Regions from separate parts of the Homo sapiens genome. Here region 1 is linked to region 2. Evidence: promoter capture Hi-C in 16 types of primary human blood cells and fetal thymus (Javierre and others, 2016). All regions are on one chromosome and are shown on one strand. The core of a region is centred on a gene start or on the middle of the fragment in contact, and the rest is flanking DNA. Distances in the headings are between cores, read along the strand shown.

The links. The method cuts DNA at HindIII sites, captures the fragments that hold promoters and counts their contacts. A CHiCAGO score of 5 or more calls a contact.
Region 1: the fragment with the promoter of AGPAT4 here is called in contact with the fragment with the promoter of SFT2D1 in region 2 in 1 of 17 cell types (M0 macrophages); the score reaches 5.2 in M0 macrophages.

What each region holds. Positions count from the first base shown.
Region 1 is chr6:161,272,663-161,278,023 of GRCh38, forward strand. AGPAT4 (1-acylglycerol-3-phosphate O-acyltransferase 4) reads right to left here and starts at 1,399. Exons shown (of 9, transcript NM_020133.3): 1 at 1,276-1,399. The HindIII fragment of the contact is 1,627 bases long and covers 348-1,974 here.
Region 2 is chr6:166,339,762-166,344,662 of GRCh38, forward strand. SFT2D1 (SFT2 domain containing 1) reads right to left here and starts at 2,784. Exons shown (of 8, transcript NM_145169.3): 1 at 2,658-2,784. The coding sequence starts at 2,720. LOC100289495 (a long non-coding RNA gene) reads left to right here and starts at 2,870. Exons shown (of 2, transcript NR_040022.1): 1 at 2,870-3,386. RefSeq lists a silencer at 2,495-2,654 and an enhancer at 2,716-3,609. The HindIII fragment of the contact is 4,850 bases long and covers 2,250-4,901 here.

The DNA of each region.
Region 1 (5,361 bases), core at 149-2,648, 5.1 Mb before region 2:
CAAGATGTGCCCTGTTCTCCCTGCCCGCCTCCCATTTCCCTAAACACACACACACACACACACACACACAAACACACACATTCTCCCTTCTCTCAAGATACTTTTTTTCCAACTGAGAGTCGTTGACTAATCACAGATGAGTTAATCCTTCCACAGTTTTGAAAAAGTCTAGCAACCCTCACCTTGAAGAGAGTGAATAGCGTGGCTAATCCATCTAAGAACAATGCACGAAAACGAAAAACGGAGAATCCTGCCCGGCAGTTAATTTGTTACTCATACTTGTTGAACTTAAGATTTGGAGCTAAATAAGTGCAGATGAGAGCAAAGACCCATCTTTTAAATATTTAAGCTTTTAGGCAAACCTGGGCAGGCAATATCACATTTATCAGTGCGAATTCTCCAATGCTCTCTAAAACTTTATTTCAATGATCTCACCTCCTGTAAGGAATTAATTCCCCCTTAGCTTGACCACAGGATCAATATCTTATCTTAAGAAGTGTTTAGGTTTTCTAAAAAAAGACCAGACACTGAAGACTTACATAAACATCAAAGCATTCTTTTTTTAATTCCTCGATATGGAGAAATTCATAGGCCGAAAATTAGGTAAATAGAGAGGTAATTACCAATGCCTGTTTCCTTGACAACTCCCCTCCCCCACCCCTCCTGTGATAGGGAAAAACCAAAATGAAAGTGAGGAGGGGTAGCCACAAGCCATGCTGGATTTTAGCAAACCAAAGCAAGAAGCAGAGCAGAAAGCTGCAAACTAGACACAAAATACAAATAAATCAATGTATATCGGGGCTGCATATTGTGTAGTATTTTTGTGGTTGCCATAGAAACGTCAGCGACGGAAGAACATGTTGCATGACACAAAAGAGAGCAATATGTAATAGGAACATTCCCCCCACCACCACCCCCCGCCCAGCTTCGTCTATAGCAGAGAAAATGCTTTAGCCCCGGGAGGGGGCTGGGTGGGTGGGTAAATGAAGCCAGGAACAGCAGCTTGAAATCACAGCCCAGAAAGGGACGCTCACCCGGCCCAGCACAAAGCGAGGGTCCTTTTGTACCAGCAGAGCCTCTCTTCGCCTCCCTCCAGGCGCCCCCTGCACCTTTCCCCCGCCCGCCTTGCACTCCCCCCCCGCCCCCGGAGCCTACCCCTTCCAGAGGTCCTAAGGAAATCCAGCCCAGGAGAGAAAAATATGCTGGGAAGAGGAATGCAAACATCAGCCACACCCAGCGGGGAAGGTGCCTGCGAACGGCACCAGGACCACATACCTCCTTCCTGGCAGCCTTTGGCACATGGACTTAGAAACCAGAAGCTGAGATGGAGCCGGCTGGGTTCAGAAATTGCCACTAGTTTATAAGAGCTGTAAGTCAGCCAACACTGGAAAGAAAAAGCGAGACTCCACCCATGGGGTGGACCCTTCAGGAAGAAAAAAAAAAAAAAAGTGGTCCTCAGCTGACGTCTCTCCCCACCCATGTCACTTCCTTTTAAAGCTACAAGTTAGCAGTTGCCGAGAGGGAAGAGCGAGCTGGTGTAATATGAGTCACTCCCTTCCCCTTCCAATTAGTGTAAGGCAGTGCTTCAGTTGGCTTCACGTTTGAAATCGCTTTTGAAATCTGGCTCGGGAAGCTGCCAGGATAAAAAAAAAATGAAAGCCCCCTGGAAGTGGCCTTGCTTTCTCTCCCCTTTCTCCCAAATCCTGTTGCATCCCTGCGCCCTAACGGCTCCTCTAACCTCAACCCAGACTCCGGCTCCGTCTGTGTTGCAACCTGGAAATTGTCCTCAGTTGGCTCATTTTTAATTCAGCAAGCGTAGGATCAATATGCCCACCCTCAAAACTCTCCCCTCACCTCTCCTCGGTCCGCTGTGCTGGAAGGAGATTGCGTTGCACTCAGAAGAGTCCAAATCATCTTAAACAAAATAAGCCTCAGCACTCAAGAGATTGAGATGTTATGAAGTGGGATGAAAGAAGCTTGGAGGTCGATTGATGTATTTTCTGTTTTCAAACCTTAGCACCATGGTTGATTACCACTGCACAGGCGTGCACACACGTACTGTCGCATGCTCACATGCACGTGGCATTTACACAGGTGTATCAGAGAGGGTCTGGGCAGACCTTTATAGTAAAAGTGTCTTCACAATTTTTAAAAAGGGTGGGCTGTTGAAAGTCCAGAAATGCCAGGATCTAGAAAATTATTTCAATTTCAAAATACTGAGGTGTATTCCTTTCAAATGTCCACTATTACAGCCATTGTCAAAATAATATTTAACTATTTACTTGACTCCTGGGTTAACCTTGTTCTTTAGATGTTTATAATCTATAAAGGAAAAATACATGTGCTCACAAATAGCCCAAGCACATTGCAGAATTACTAACAGCTATGCAAGTGTCAAAACCAGTGTGTCATGAAGACAGAATAGAAAGTGCTTTTTTGATTGCGATGGGGGAAGGCATTGATCATTCAGGAAACAGGGTTTGGAGTGGGTCCTATGGGAGGTGGCATTTTTCTTGTCTGTGATGAGAGACGGGGAGAGTGAAGCAGAATGTGGTGGAAGAGAAAGGATATGTGAGGCAAACAAAAAAAGGATCAGAACAGAAACCCATTTGTAGCAATAACTTGTTTTAATATCCATGTGAAAATAAATTTGACCACAGAGTAATGCTTATAAAAGATTTTTATAAAAAGTTCCTTGTAGTCATCATCTCTCGTAACTTTTCGAACTATGTTTTACGACCCATGTGCTTCTAGATTTGGTGGAAACTTGAGTTTTTCAAAGTGTTTTTCAAGTAGAGTTACACTGTTTTTCACGGTTGAATTCTGAATGGTAATTTATTTCAAAACCTACAAATTGCATAAATTCCTGATAATGTTATAAGTACAGTCAGTGATTTCAGTGGAAATGATAGGAAATTTAAAATTTGGACAATTGTAACTTTTATCCTGATCTCAGTACTTTAACATCCTCATTCCATTATTACATTACAATTATTATTATACTTATTATTGCTAACACTTTGCCTGTCTAGACAATGTTGCTCAGTCCCAGTTATCTCAGATATAGCTGAGAAATATGGGAGAAAAAGTTACTATTTCTAAAAATTTAACATAGAAATTCAAAATTCATGGATTAAATCCTATGCTTTTTTTTTTGAGACAGAGTCTTGCTCTGTTGCCCAGGCTGGAGTGCAATGATACGATCTCAGCTCACTGCAACCTCCACCTCCTGTGTTCAAGCAATTCTCGTGCTGCAGCCTCCCAAATAGCTGGGATTACAGACATACACTACCACACCCAGCTGATTTTTTGTGTTTTTGGTTGAGACGAAGTTTCACCATGTTGCCCAGGCTGGTCTCTAACTCCTGACCTCAGGTGATCCACCTCCACCTCCCAAAGTGCTGTGATTACAGGCAGGGAGTCACCACGCCCAGCCCTATGCACATTATTGAGTGCCATTTAGAGTCTATCCTTATGTGCCCTTATTTAGCTATTTCTATCTATACAAGGAATTGTGAATATTTCCAGGTCACAACGTAACAACTCAGTTCAATGTATGTTTATTGAGCATCCATGTTAGTTGCTGAAGATACAAAAACACAGATAAGACATGGAAATGGCCCCAAAGTGCTCAAAGTCTTAGAAGGGAAAGCGAAATGTAAACAGTTAAGACACAATGGAGGCAATGATTGACATTTGTACAAGATTCAGAGGTGGTTCGAGAATGGGAAAAGGAGAGGGAGGATACATCTACATAGTTTCTTAGCTAACAGTGGACTCTAAAAGGGGTGGAGGTGGACAGTATACTCATCCGTGAGATGGTAAGAAATAAATACTGGCAGTTGGAGAGAGGAGAAAAAAATTGAAAAGGAGACACAAATCATAAATTGGTAACCTAAAAAAGATATATAAGTGGTCCGTAAACAAAGAGGCAACCTTACATAAAAATACAAGTCACAAAGTAAGGATGTTATTTCTTTGCCTAGTCACTTGTCCAACACTCAAAAAGCTAGAACGTGCAGTGCAGAGAATGCAATGCCATGGGTTCTCTCTTCTGCTGGTGATGGCAAATTGATACAATCTCTGGAATTCAATTAAAGAAGATTTTTCATGAGCCTTTAAAATGTTCATACCCCTTAATCCAATAATTCGACTCAGAATAATTTATACCAAGGACATAAGCAGAGATAAATTCAAAGATTTGGGAACATGTATATTCATCAGAGCCATTTATAATAGTAAAGTCTGGAAACCATCTGAGTGTTTGAAGTAGCAGGTTAGCTATGGAAATGATGTAATCTTCATATGATGAAACACTCTACAAAAAATTAAAATTCTGTGTTTGAAAGACCTAGGGAAATTCATGGTATCTTAAGTGTAAAGGGAACTAAGCTTTATATAAATTATGGTCCCGTTTTCGTGATTCTATAAATATATATTACAGTGTGTGTAGTGGGTTGAATAAGTGTCCCCCAGTGTCCCCCACAAATTCATGTTCACCCAGAACCTCACAATATGAATTTGTTTAGAAACAGAGTCTTTGCAGATGTTAATCAGCTGAGACGAAGTCATTCTGGATTAGGATGGGCTATAGACCCAATACCTGGTGTCCTTATAAAAAGAGGAGAGGATGCAGAAAGACACACACATAGAATAAGGCCATGTGATGGCGGAGGTAGAGATGGGAATGATGTGTCTATGAATCAAAGATTGCTGGCAAACACCAGAAACCAGGAGAGACGCATGGAACAGACTCTCTGAGAGCCTCCAGAAGGACCCAACCCTGCTGATGCCTTAATTTTAGATTCCTGGCCTCGTGAACTGTAAGAGAATAAATTTCTGTTGTTTTAAGTCACACAGTTTGTGCTAATTTGTGATGGCAGCTCTGGGAAACTTAATGCAGTGTGATGAAGATCATGAAACTGTTAATAATCATTACTTCTGGAGAGTGAGATTGAGGATGATTTTTATTTGCTTCTTTATATGTGATTGCACTTTGGAGAACTTTCTACAATGGATGAACACGTGTGACTTTTACAGTAACAAGATTAGGACTAAAAACCAAATAACCTAGGTTTCTGAAACTGTTTCTGCAATTTAGAACAGACATAAACAATAATCAGTGATGCTTACGACACGGTGAGTCCTGAGGAGTAACATATTTTCAAAGCCCAGTGAGAGGTAGAATTCTGCATATCTCAGAAACTTCTTTAAACCTAAGTTTTGGTACTTAAAATGATAACTATCACTTATCTGAAATGTGAACTTACACACTATGTATTAACTGTTGTGCTAGATAGTGGAGTCACTGATGGCATTGTTACAAATTGCCCATTCTGTTAGCACAATGTTATTACACAT
Region 2 (4,901 bases), core at 1,534-4,033:
CACGCCTCTCAGCTGTCTTTGCCGGCTTCTGCTCATCCTCTAAACTTCTACACACCTAGAGAAAACCAGAGGTCAAACCTTGGACCTCATCTTGACGATCTCATCTCTCTCCTATTTCCTCCCACAAACTCTACAGTGTTACGTCCAACTGCTTTCCTCACATCTCCACTTGGATGCTACCTGGATCTCAGACTTCACGTCCACACTGAAATGATTTTCCTCCCTGAACCTGCTCCTCCCACAGTCACTTAATGGCAACTCCACCTCTCCAGATGCTCAGGTCGAATGCCATGAGGCATCCTTGCCTCCTCCCACTCTCACACATCCAATCCGTCAACAGTGTGGCCTGCTGGCTGTACACTCAGACCATTTACAGAATCTGACCACTTTTTTGTTTTTTAAACAGGCTTTTTTGCTCTTTAAACCACTTCTATCACTGATTTGAGCCACAGTCATCTCTTGCCAGGACAACTGTACTTGTCTCCAGCCCAGTCTCTGGGCTTCTAACATTGCCTCTACAGTTTGTTCTCCACAGAGCTGCCAGAGTGATCCTTTAAAATCCAAGTCGGTCACACCACCACTCTGCTCTAAACCCAAAGGCTTCCTATCACACTCAGAGTAAAGCTAAAATCCTTTCTATGGCCTATGAGAACCCTCACAATTGAGAATCCCCCTTCCTGCTTCACCTTTTCTTCTACAATTGTCCCTCTTCTCTGCCCCGCTGCTAGAGCCCCTCTGGCCTCCTTACTGGCCCTGAACATGCTGACCACACACCACTTGGGACTCTGTATCTGCCTTGGAGGCTTTTATTCACAGGATGCTCAGACATCCCAGCAGCTCTTCTGAGCTGTGCTCACATGACTCCCTGGCAGGGAGGCCTTATCTAAGTAATATGGCAACCCCAACCTCCTCAACCTGCTCTGACTTTTTCTGTGGCTGTCTGACACATTATATACTTGTTTATTCACTGTTTCCTCCAATTAAAATTTAAGTTCCATGTGAAAGAGGTATTTGCACTGGTCACTGTTATTAACACCTGCATCTTGAACAATGTCAAACATATGCAGGAACTTGAATATTTGTTAATGAACGATCACCTCCTCTGAACTCACAGCACTTGTCTATACAGCCAGTCACTCTAATCTTTGATTGATTACTTCTCCACATATCTTTCTCCCCTCTAGACAGTGGGCTCAAGATAAGTGATATTACCTTTGCATCTCCAAAGTTTAGAGTAGCACTGTCCAATAGAACTTTCTGCAATGCAAATGTTCTGTATCTGCGCTGTTTAATACAGTAGCCTTTAACCACATGTGCCTACTGAACATGTGAAATGTGGTTGCTGTGACTAAGGAACTGAATGTTAAATTTTATTTAATTTTAATTAATTTAAATTTAATTGCTCCAGGCGCAGTGGCTCAAGCCTGTCATCCAAGCACTTTGGGAGGTCAAGGTGGGCGGATCACTTGAGGTCAGGAGTTCGAGACCAGCCTGACCAACATGGTGAAACCCCCATCTCTACTAAAAACACAAAATAATTAGCAGGGCATGGTGGCAGGTGCCTGTAATCCCAGCTACTCAGGAGGCTGAGGCAGGAGAATTGCTTGAACCCGGGAGGCAGAGGTTGCAGCGAGTCGAGATCACGCCACTGCACTCCAGGCCTGAGCGACAAAGCAAGACTCCATCTAAAAAAAAAAAAAAAAAAAATTCATTGGCCACATGTGGCTGTGGTAATATACAGAGTTACAGAGTGCAATGAGAACAGATACTTGTCTTACACTCTCTGAACCCAAAACTGTAGCCCAGAACTCTACCCACACCAAGTGCTGAGTAAGTATAATGACAAGGAAGTCAGGAGAGACAAATAGAAGATCCTTATGAAATACAATTCAATTTTAAACGTCCAACTTCTGCGACAGCACACAATAACGTGCAATATAATCGCATGCAATAACAAAAAAACTTACACCGCAGTTCCTGCTCCACTGCTACTTTTAACCTTCTTGCTGGAGGAAGTAACCCTTATCAAGTCTCGCTGGTAAGGCGCAGACACAAGGGCTTTTATTAAGAAAAAAAAAAAAATCTCTTACCAGGGCTCACTGCCTTAACAGAAAAATTTTAATTCAATATTATTTCACTTACCAATGTCCTGTTTATTTTTCCTCCAGTCTCCCTATTTCCAAAAGACCACCCCCCAGCAAACACACACATAACACCACCTTTACCTCCAAAGACAAACAGATGCAACAAGCTTTAGGGTCTCGGCTCACTGCAGCTTGCAGGATAAATGCCCTGCATAGCTACTTACGCTGCACAGCCCGAGGCCAGACCCCGCACCAGGCTCAGAAAACCAAATAGTACGTGGGAGCGATGGATTATTTGGGAAAGCGAGGGCAGACGTTAGCGGATTCCTAAGTCAGAAGGCCAGATGGGAGAGTCGGGGGGGGGCCTCAAAGTGGGTTTAAGTAGACCGCATGGAAAACTGGAAAGTTCTCAAATTCTACCCAGGAAGCAGGCGGAGCCCTCCTAAATCAACCAGCCGGGCAGAGGAGTCCCAGACCCCCGGCCTCGCACCCACCCCACCCGCTCGGCCGGTCCTCAGTGCGGCCGGGGCCAGCGGGCAGCCCCGGGACTGGACGAGGGCGCAAGTTCGCTACCTGCGCAGTCAGGCCCTGCTCCTCGTCGTCCTGGCCGCTCAGGACTCGCCGCAGCTTCTCCATGGCCCTGTTACAGGGCCGTAGCGGCCGCCACTCTGTTGCCTGCCCCTGACGCCCACCAGGAAACCCCGAACCCGAAACCCCACAGACCAGCCGGAAGTCCGGTCCCGCCCGCTTCCTGTGCGTCAGCGCGGCCGCCGTAGCAATGCGCGCATGCTCACCAGCCTTTCTCTCGGACCCGGTAGTGGTCCGTGAAGTCCGCGGAGTGGGCGCTGATGGTGGGGCTATCCCTTCCCACTGTCCGCGAGGTGCGCCGTGGTAACGCGCGGGGACACAGCGCGGGTGTGGACCCCCTGCCCACAGCTGGCGCACAGCCATTGAGTGTAGACCCGACTGGGGCACGACCACTGAACCCTGCACTTGGCGTCCTCCGGGCCCCGCGAGGGGCCTTGCTGGGCGGGTCCGCGGCACCCCGGGTTCCCAGAAGTCGAGGCCCCGAATGCGCCTCCCCTCGCCTGGAATCGGAGAGCGGAGGGCTCCTGCGGGCAGGTGGCCGTGCTCCGAAGAGCGCCCTGCCACCCATGAGGTGGCCCTGGGGGCGTCGCTAGCCTTCCCAGCTGGGTGTCCTCATCCGGAGACACAAACACCTGCCTCAGGATTAAAGCGAGGAGCTGTATTTCAGACCGTCTCAGGAGAAATAGCAAGAGGCTGCCTCACTCCTTTGCCCTTGTGAGAGCTATTTCTTTACTCAGTTCACTGGTCAGCTAGGAGTTTGAAAGAGTGAAATCTTATTTATAAAAGGAATAGCTAATGCAACCCATTTTTCCAGTTTTGTGTGAACAGTGAAACCATTGAACAAGCGTTTACTGTTCTCCGGCTCGTGCTGGATGAACAAACACTAAGAAATGGGGAAGTGGCATTTTTCTCTCTCTCATTTTCCACCATGCTAAGAAAGGAGATTAAAAATCAGGGCTGCCTGTCTAATATGGTCTCCAGAAGTCATTAAGTGATAGGTTTTGCTCTTCTGTTTGCTTCTAGGCTTGGTAAGATGGTAATGAGAATGCCTGTTCTTTTGATTACTTTGCCCACTCCATTTCCTCCCTAAAATCTTTCAGTTAAAAGGTGGATCCTCAAAAAGTTTCATTGTCCATCCTACTGCCTCAGTAGAGATTTTATCTAAACTCAATTAGATAAAAACAAATACCACAGGAACCCTAGGAAAGCAAGTCGCGCCTTCTTGTGATGAAACGGTCCAATGCTCAGCATCCTTTTCCTTTAGGCAGAAGATATTTCTATGTGGCCTGTTCATACTAATATGAGAAGTCTTATCCTTATGTCCTTAACTTTAAAAGGTCAGAAAATAGATTGTAAAATCTATAGAATAAAACTATGTTTCTGTTGAATAAGAGAGTATGTCCGTAAGTGTTACGGGAAAGGGGTCCGGATCCATACCCCAAAAGAGGGTTCTTGGATCTTGCGCAAAAAGAATTCAGGGCAAGTGAAAACAAGTTTATTTAAAAAGTAGAGGAACATCGGTAGTCTGAGGCAGAGAATTGCTTGAACCCGGGAGGCGGAGCTTGCAGTGAGCCGAGATCGCGCCCCTGCACTCCAGCCTGGGCGACAGAGCGAGACTCCGTCTCAAAAAAAAAAAAAAAAAGTAGAAGGACAAAAGAATAGCTACTCCATAGGCAGAGCAGGGCTGTCTATTACCAGGGCTGCTGGTTGCCCATTTTTATGGTTATTTCTTGATGATATGCTAAACAAGGGGTGGATTCATGCCTCCCCTTTTTAGACCATATAGGCTAACTTCGTGATATTGCCATGGCATTTGTAAACTGCCATGGCGCTAGTGGGAGTGTAGCAATGAGAACGACCAGAGGTCTCTCTTGTTACCTTGGTTTTGGTGGGATTTGGCCGGTTTCTTTACTGCAGTCTGTTTCATCAGCAAGGTCTTTATGATCTGTATCTTGTGCTGACCTTCTATCTTATCCTGTGTCTTAGAATGACTTAACTGTCTGGGAATGCAGCTCAGTGGGTCTCAACCTCATTTTACCCAGCCGCTATTCAAGATGGGCTTCTCTGGTTCACATATCTGACATAACTGCTTTCAAGATTTTCAAGTATAGGCCGAGCGCGGTGGCTCACTCCTGTAATCCCAGCACTTTGGGAGGCAAAGGCGGGTGGGTCACAAGGTCAGGAGTTTGAGACCAGCCTGGACAATATGGTGAAACCCCGTCTCTACCA